Linked DNA regions of Homo sapiens: region 2 is linked to region 1. The links are contacts of gene promoters, found by promoter capture Hi-C in blood cells and fetal thymus (Javierre and others, 2016). All regions are on one chromosome and are shown on one strand. Each heading gives the region's core, a stretch centred on a gene start or on the middle of the fragment in contact. The rest is flanking DNA. Distances are from core to core; before and after follow the strand shown. Region 1 holds the start of GPR132 (G protein-coupled receptor 132). Region 2 has its middle 13 kb from the start of PLD4.

The links. The method cuts DNA at HindIII sites, captures the fragments that hold promoters and counts their contacts. A CHiCAGO score of 5 or more calls a contact.
Region 2: a fragment that was not itself captured here is called in contact with the fragment with the promoter of GPR132 in region 1 in 1 of 17 cell types (endothelial precursors); the score reaches 5.3 in endothelial precursors.

The regions. Positions count from the first base shown.
Region 1 is chr14:105,063,084-105,067,677 of GRCh38, forward strand. It overlaps GPR132 (G protein-coupled receptor 132), which reads right to left and starts at 2,347. Exons shown (of 4, transcript NM_013345.4): 1 at 2,296-2,347. RefSeq lists enhancers at 566-625, 1,036-1,175, 2,853-3,370, 3,046-3,215, 3,426-3,495 and 1 more. The HindIII fragment of the contact is 11,012 bases long and covers 1-4,594 here.
Region 2 is chr14:104,909,837-104,914,430 of GRCh38, forward strand. No RefSeq gene overlaps it. Among named protein-coding and RNA genes, the nearest start is that of PLD4, 13 kb to the right of the region's middle. The HindIII fragment of the contact is 8,040 bases long and covers 1-4,594 here.

The DNA of each region.
Region 1 (4,594 bases), core at 1,097-3,596:
ATTTTTGTACTTTTATTCTTAGAGACGAGGTTTCCCTATGTTACCCAGGCTGGTCTCGAGCTCCTGGGCTCAAGAAATCCGCCGGCCTCGGTCTCCGAAAGTGCTGGGAATACAGGCGTGAGCCACCATGCCCGGCCAATGAATCCATTTTCCAGATTAGAGAAGCACCACATGTTCCTGGGATGGACATTTCAATAACAGGATCTAGCATGACCTCACCCAGCCACTGTCCCTGGAGCTCTCTGGCCTGCAAGTTGCTGTGCTCCTCCAGTCTTTTAAAATCTATTTTGTAACTTTTTTTTTTTTTTTAGGCTGAGTTTCTCTCTCGTTGCCCAGGCTGGAGTGCAATAGCACGATCTTGGCTCACTGCAACCTCTGCCTCCCGGGTTCAAGTGATTCTCCTGCCTCAGCCTCTGAAGTAGCTGGGATTAGCAGGCGCCTGCCACCATGCCCGGCTAATTTTTTGTATTTTTAGTAGAGAAGGGGTTTCGCCATATTGGTCAGGCTGGTCTTGAACTCCTGACCTCAGGTGATCCGCCCGCCTCGGCCTCCTAAAGTGCTGGGATTACAGGTGTGAGCCACCACGCCCAGCCTGTTTTGTAACTTATGATGGAACTTTTCAGACAGACACAAAAGGACAGAGAAGGAGCCCTGGCCCCTGCCATGTGCAGGGAGCAGTTCCTCATTCCAGCCCATTTGTCAAAAACAGCTCCTCAGGCTGCTGAGGTCTGTCTTGTGGACTATCTGTAATTTCTTTCTTTCTTTTTTTTTTTGAGACAGAGTTTCGCTCTCGTTGCCCAGGCTGGAGTGCAATGGCACGATCTCGGCTCACCACAACCTCCACCTCCTGGGTTCAAGTGAGTCTCCTGCCTCAGCCTCCCAAGTAAATGGGATTACAGGCGTGTGCCACCACGCCCGGCTAATTTTGTATTTTTAGTAGAGACAGGGTTTCACCATATTGGTTACGCTGGTCTCGAACTCCTGACCTCAGGTGATCCACCTGCCTTGGCCTCCCAAAGTGCTGGGATTACAGGCGTAAGCCACCGCACCTGGCTGGATTGCCTGTAATTTCTAAGCTGTTTCACGGTTGCTGGCCATTCCTAGCCATTTCCGTCTTTTACTCCCACCTGCTTTGGCACCAGGCAAACCTATGACCTCTTTTCTGCCGTCACGTTTGAGACAAACCCTAGGGAGGGAAATGTGGAGTCACCAGCTCCAACCTCCCTGCTCCACCACACCCATCCAAAGCCCATTGTCAACTTTCTTATTTTTCCCAATTTGATAGTGTTGCCCAGGCTAGAGTGCAATGGCGCGATCTCGGCTCACTGCAAGCTCCGCCTCTCAGGTTCAAGCGATTCTCCTGCCTCGGCCTCCCAAGTAGCTGGGATTACAGACGTGTGCCAACACGCCCGGCTAATTTTTGTATTTTTAGTAGAGACAGGGTATCACCATGTTGGTCAGGCTGGTCTCAAACTCCTGACCTCAAGTGATCCGCCCACCTCGGCCTCCCAAAGTGCTGGGATTACAGGCATGAACCACCGTGCCCAGCCCCTATCCTCATCTTCTTCCAGGAGCCTCTGCTCTCCCACCTCGGCCTGGCCAATCTCCTGAAATATCATTTTGTGCTCAGCCCAACTGGCCAGTCTTCAGTGGTCAGTCCCAGTCCCTTGCAGTGGTACAGACCCACGTCATGCACTTGACAGAAGGTATTGGGCCCCCCGCCCCGCTGTGCCTGGTGCGCCGAACGCCACTCCAAAGGCCGGTGACCTGCCCAGCTCCAGGATCTTGTCACGTGACTGGGCCAACTGCCACTCACCGCAGCACAGCCCCCACTGCCCTGCTTTTCCCTCTGTGTAACCCCACAAGCAGCACAGGCCCCACAGAGAGAAGCCCAGCCCTTCAGTGCCCCCCGACCAATCACGGAAGCAAGTGGCCAAGGAGAGATTCCAGGGACAAAGTCCAGCCCCCTGACTCACCCCCATCTGGACCAGTAGCCAGGGAAGCCTTTTCCAGAAGAAAGTCTCCAGGAAGGTGGCGGTGACAAAGATACAATGGAAACTGTTGTCCCTCTCCCCCAAATCCTCCGGCCCCATCACATCTGTGGTCACTGGGGGTCCTGGGTTCTCTCGGGAGGGACCCCAGATTAAGAACCCTCAACAAAGCCTCCATCTTTACCAACAAATCACCTTTGCCTTCAGATCCCCCTCTGCCCGCCTCCAGCTCCCAGCCCCCAGCCCCATCCCAGAGCCTGGCCCCCCAGGCCCACTCCCCAGCACGCAGAGCCCAGCGACTTACCCAGGGCCCCGCCTGCGTGGCTAGCCTCGCACCCCTCCCTGCAGTCCTAGCTGAGGTTTCAGGAAGTAGCAGGGGTCTAATTATGTTCTGTCTAGAACTCCCCTAACCACAAACAGGGCTGAGCTAGGGGTTAGCCAACCGGGCTGGGGTATCTTACTGGTGATGACAGCATGGCCTCGTCACCTTCCTGAGGGAGGGAGTGGCAGGAAACCCCAGTCTTACCTCTTTTAGCAATAGCAGCACTCAGAGCCAGGCTCCACTCACTCAGGAGCTCCCAGGCAGGTGCTGGGGCCTGGCGCGGCACAGCGGCTGTCCGTGTGTCCCCAGACAGGCAAGGCAGGACAGGGGTCCTGGAAAGGCTGCAGGGAGGGGTCCTGGAAAGACAAAATCCAGCTCCTCTGCAGCTCAGGCCTGGTGTTGCCCACTCTCGGGCCAGGCAAGCACGGAGCAGGGTGACTTCCCAGAGGCTGTGTCCTCCCAGGAGTCCCTGTCCGGGGTGCCAGGAGTAGAGAGGCTGAGTGCGCCCACTGCAGCCCCGGGACCAGGATGGCACCTGCATGTCCTGGAAGGCTCGGCACAGCCACTGCACACAAGCACCCTCCCCTCCCCGCCTCCCTCTTCCTACATGGGGCAGGGCCGTGTGGGAAGAACAGCCTACTGCACACTCCACATTCCTCCCCCAGCCCTACCTCAACCCCTCCTGCATCCAGAACCAAGCCTGGCCTGGCCCAGGAGCCCTGCGGGTGGGCTTCTCTGTGAGGGGCCCTGTGGGAACTGGAGGGTGGGCAGGCAGGGTTGCCTGGGACAGTCCCCCTCACTGTGGGGCTTCCGGCCATGATGGGCCCAGTTTCCTTGGACAAAGCCAGCTGGCTGTGGACAGCACCTACAACTCCACTCACCTCCAGGCTGCTTCTGAGTTTCAGGGCACAGACCCACCCTGGTGCCCACTCCCGAGCCTGCCAAGCTCCATCCAAGCCAGGCTCTTTCAGCAGTGGGGACAGGGCCGGGCTGAGGGAAGGAGCTGGGGACCACAAATGTCTCCAAGCGACACTGCCCAGCACCGCAGCAGGGACGGTCACTGAGCGAAGAAGCCGCCATCCTGGGTGGGTACACCCACGGCCAGGAGAGGCCGGTGGAGGCCGAGCCCCCAGTCTACACTTTCCCCCAGACACGTGGATCACAGCTGCCCCCTGCTGCAGGGCCGCATGGCTGGAGGCTGCCTCCGAACAGCGATTTCAGAGGGTTTTGTGTGGGTGGCAGTGGAGTCCCTGGAAAGCTGGGCTTTCCCATTGCCCTGGCGGGGAGGCGCAGGTCTCAGGGCAGGGCCTACCTTGGCTTTCCAGAAACACTTGCCCAGGGGACAGTGATCCTCTAGGGGATCTGGTGCAAACACACGCCTCCACAGGCCACTGCTCATGGGGTCACTGGCCTCCCGGGTCTTTGGGCCAGGGCAGCCCCACCCTCGGAGCAGCAATAGACGAAGCCCACATCAGGCCAGTGGGGGTGATGGCCAGGGACAGCTGTGGGTTCCTGTCGCTGGCCCCAGCAGCCTCCTAGGACCTGCCCCGTCCTGCGCCCCACTGGGTGGTCTGTCACGTTCACCAGGCCTCCTCTGCGCCCCCGGTGAGGGGTCCAGGAGTGACATGCGGACCCGGCTCAGGCCATTGTCACCCTCCATGCCTTCTGGCCTTTGCCAGGCAGTCCGGGAATAGCCGATTCAAGTGAGGTCAGTTGAATCCTCTCTTTGGGTCCTTCACTGGGGTCTGGGAAAGGAAAGTTGGGTCCCTTGGGTGGCAGGAGCTGTGGGTATGAACTGGGGGGTTGGCAGCCGTGTACCGGCTCCCCTGCCCCTGCCAGGTGGAGAAGCCAGGCTGGGGTGGAGGGCAGGCAGGAGCCTGGGAGTCCAAACACTGACAGCCTGGGGGTGTGGACTGGCCCTGCCTATTCCCACCGGGCCTTCGGGACCAGTGGAGGCTGCCCCGGGCTGTGCGGCACCTGGGGTGTTGTCTCTGAGAAGCCCGTCAGGGAGATGGCTCTCCCTGCTCTGACCCCAGCAAAGCGATTCATACCCAGAGAATCCCTCACCAACAGGAGAGCAGGTTTCAGACAGGAAGTCACCCGAACATCCCACGGCTGAGTCACGTGCCAGAACAGCTCCCTGCGGCCCAGACACAGCAGTGGTGAGGTCCAAGCTGCAGACATGGGGTACAACTTCACATCCCGATGTGTGCACCAGAAACCGCCCTGCTGTCCGGTGGGTTCACCAGCCGTTCTCCTGGCCTGTCTGGACCCTGCAGAA
Region 2 (4,594 bases), core at 1,537-4,036, 150 kb before region 1:
GGAACAAAAGAGCATGGGATACAGCCAGAGTCAGAAAAACATCACATGGAAAACTATAATGACTGAAAATAAAGATCTTTCAAAACCTCAATGAAAGAGTTAAACAGCAGATTAGACACAGTTAAAACAAGAATTAGTCAACTGTAAGAAAGATGAGAAGAAATTACCCAAAATGCAATACACAGGAACATGGTGGGAATAGAAAATGTGAAAGACATGTTAATAGGCATAGAAGACTGCGTGACAACATATAACATACATCTATCTGGAGTTTCTGAATGAGGGAGTCGAAAGGATGAGACACAGGAAATATTCAAAGAGATCAGGCCAGAATTTTCCAGAACTGGGAAAGACACATACCATGGATGAAATTGTCTCTCAAAAGATGTTAAAGTCCTGATGCCCAGTGCCTGTGAATGTGGCCTTATTTGGAAATAGAGCCTTTACAGATGATCAAGGTAAGATGAAGTAATTGGGGGAGATCCGGTAAACCAAAAATAAAAACCTAAGCTCCCGACTGACTGATGGATCCCCCCCTCAGCAAAGGGCATTCCAAAGTTAACCTAAAAGACTAGCTCAGGCCATGATGCGAATTAGGGGTCAGATGCTTCATTATACCCTCTTCCCTTTGGAATTCTGGCACAGCTGACCAGCATTAACATTTCAACAGAAAGATTAAAATTAGGACTGATAGAACAGACTATTGAAGTCTGATAAGAAACATCTGCAATCCATTCTCTCTGAAGTCTGCTACCTGGAAGGCTTCATCTGCATAGTAAGAACCCTGGTCTCTACAACCGTTATCTTAACCTAGACACCCCCTTCTATTGATTCCAGGTCTTTAGATAACTCTTTTTTTTCTTTTTTTTTTTTTGAGATGAAGTCTTGCTCTGTTGCCCAGCCTGGAGTGCAGTGGTGTGATCTCGGCCCACTGCAACCTCCACCTCCCAGGTTCCAGCGATTCTCCCACCTCAGCCTCTGGTGTAGCTGGGATTACAGGCATGTGCCACCATGCCTGGCGAATTTTTGTATTTTTAGTAGAAATGGGGTTTCATCATGTTGGCCAGGCTGGTCTTGAACTCCTAACCTCAGGTGATCCTCCAAACTTGGCCTCCAAAAGTGCTGGGATTACGGGTGCGAGCCACCATGCCTGGCCTATATTAACTCTTTCAACCAACTGGCAACCAGAAAATCCTTGAATCCATCTCTGACCTCGAAGCCCCCACTTCAAGTTGTCCCACCTTTCCAGACCAAACCGATGTACATCTTACATGTATTGATTGATGTCTTATGCCTCCCTAAAATGTATAAAACCAAGCTGTAGCCCGACCACCTTGGAAACATGTCTCAGGATCTGCTGGGGCTGTGTCACAGGCCATTAGGCACTCATATTTGGCTCAGAATAAATCTCTTCAAATAGTTTACAGAATTTGACTCTTTTTATTGACAACCCTAATCCCATGTGACTGATGCCTTATGGTAGGGGAAATTTGAGACAGACATGTACAGAGGGAAGGCATGAAGACACAGGGAGAATTTCATCTATAAGCTAAAGAACACCTGGGGCTACCAGAAATTATGAGAGAGCCACAGGATCCTCCCTCACAGCCTCAGAAGGAATTAACCTTGCCGACACCTTGAGTTTGGACTTCCAGCCTCTGGAACTGTGAGACAATACATTTCTGTTGCATAAACTACTCAGTTTGTGAACTTCACTACAGCAACCCTAGAAATGAATACAACATATATCCACAGAAGATACAAAAACATAAGGGAAGCCAAACAGAATAAATGAAAGTAAAACTACACAGTTACATCACAGTAACATTGAGGAATACTGTAGATAATAAAATTTGTTTAAAACAGCCACAATAGTAAAGAAGGATTCTCTACAAAAGAATGGTGGTGGCCAGGCATGGTGGCTCACACCTGTAATCCCAGCCAGCACTTTGGGAGGCAGCGGTGGGTGGATCACCTGAGGTCAGGAGTTTGAGACCAGCCTGGCCAATATGGCAAAACCCCGTCTCTAGTAAAAATACAAAAATTAGCTGGGTGTGGTAGTGTGCACCTGTAAACCCAGCTATTTGGAAGGCTGAGGTGGAAGAATCACTTGAACCTGGGAGGTGGAGGTTGCAATGAGCCAAGATCATGCCATTTGCACTCCAGCCTGGGCGACAGAGTGAGACTTTGTCTCCAAAATGAAAATGAATGGTGGTGGATTTCTTAACAATGGGACCCTAAAGACCTCAAAGTTTCCAGAGAAAATAATTGTCAATCTGTAATTCTATACCCAGAAAAATGATCTTTCAATACTAAAGGAAAATTAGAAATATTTTTATGTTACATAACAACTAAGAGTTTACCAACACATCTTGACTCAAGGAAAACAATTGACAACCCAAAATTTTATACCCAGCTAAACTAATATTCAAGTAGACTTTAAAGGATATATTTCAGGAAGAAGGACAATGATCACAGAGGGAGAGGCTGAAGTCAAAGAAGGAATAGTGAATAAAGAAATTGCTAAAAGTGGCTGGGCACTGTGGCTCACACCTGTAATGCCAGCACTTTCGGAGGCCAAGATGGGTGGATCGCCTCAGCTCAGGAATTCGAGACCACCCTGGGCAACATGGTGAAGCCCCACCCCTACTAAAATACAAAAAAATTAGCTAGGCATGGTGGCGTGCACCTGGAGTCCCAGCTACTCAGGAGGCTGAGGCATGAGAATTGCTTGAGCCCAGGAGGCAGAGATTACAATGAGCTGAGTTATGCCACTGCACTCCAGCTTGGGCTACAGAGTGAGACTCTGTCTCAAAAAATAAATAAATAAATAAAAGTATTTTTAAAAGGAAATCATTAAAAGTGGATAATTCTAAACACACTCTCACTAGATAAATAATATCTAGTTAGACAAATATATAATTATAGTAGTTAAATATATCATCCTTATAAACATTTAATTTATGGAGTTTAAAATAATAATATTACAAGTGCTATGGTCAGGCAAGTATTAATAAAAAGAAAGCTGATGTGGCTAAACTAATATTCTCTTTTTTTTTTTTGAGACAGAGTTTTGTTCTTGTTGCCCAGGCTGGAGTGCAACGGTGCAATCTCGGCTCACCGCAACCTCCGTCTCCTGGGTTCAAGTGATTCTCCTGCCTCAGCCTCCCGAGTAGCTAGGATTACAGGTGTGCGGCACCACGCTGTGCTAATTTTGTATTTTTAGTAGAGACGGGGGTTTCTCCATGTTGGTCAGGCTAGCCTCGAACTCCCAACCTCAGGTGATCCACCTGCCTTGGCCTGCCAAAGTGCTGGGATTACAGGTGTGAGCCACCATGCCCAGCACTAAATTGATTTTCAAAAAAATATATTTTAAGACAAAAACCATAATTAGGGAAAAGAAGGCCGGTATATAATAATGAATAGTATTGTTCAGAGGATGTAAAGATTCAAAACATGTATGTACCTGAAAACAGCCATAAGTATGGGGAAAAAATGAAGAAGACTGCAAGTAGAAATTGATAATTCTATCATAAAAGAAGATTTCAACACAACTCTCTCAGTGACTGCCAGGTCAAGCGGATAAAACATTAATAAAAGGTGAATAAGATTCCAATAGCACATTTCGCGAGCTGGATTTAAAGCCATATCTAGACGTGACCGTTAGAGAGGACACATTATGCTCTGGTACGTGTGGAGCACTTACAACAATCAGCACACGCTTAGACATAAGGCAGGGCTTAACACACTTCAAAACCCACTTATGACAATGAGCACATGCTTAGACATAAGGCAGGGCTTAACACACTTCAAAACCCACTTAGGACAATGAGCACACGCTTAGACATAAGGCAGGGCTTAACACACTTCAAAACCCAGTGTCATATGACTTCACTCTCTCAGCCAAATGTAATTCAACTCTCAATCACTCACTGAGGAAGAGTGTTAAAATACATCTGGAAACCTTATAACAGATTTCTAAATCATTCATGAATGAAAGAAAACGTAAAATATTTAGAACTAAATAATAATGTATCCCTGACACACTTACATTAGTAAAGAAGAGCAGCTGAAAATTAAAAAGTTAAGCATCCGGCCGGGCACGGTGGCTCATGCCTGTAATCCCAGCACTTTGGGAGGCCAAGGTGGGCGGATCATGAGGTCAGGAGTTTGACACCAGCCTGGCCAACACGGTGAAATCCTGTCTCTACTAAAACACAACAATTAGCCGGGCATGGTGGCGCAGGGCTGTAATCCCAACTACTCAGGAGGCTGAGGCAGGAGAATTGCTTGAACCCAGGAGGCAAAGGTTGCAATGAGCCAAGATCGTGCCACTTCACTCCAGCCTGGGCCACACAGCGAGACTCTTGTCTCAAAAAGAAACAAACAAACAAAAATGTTAAGCATCCAACTGAAGGAAGTCTAAAAATGACAATAGGAATATACTAAGAAAGTAGAAGGATGAAGATAAAGGTGAAACATAAATAAATGAAAAACAAAACAAAACTAGAACTAAAAATATCTAAAACTAAATTAGAACTAAAAGCAGAACTAACATATATAAATTTGATTTCTTGAAAAAATTAATGAAATG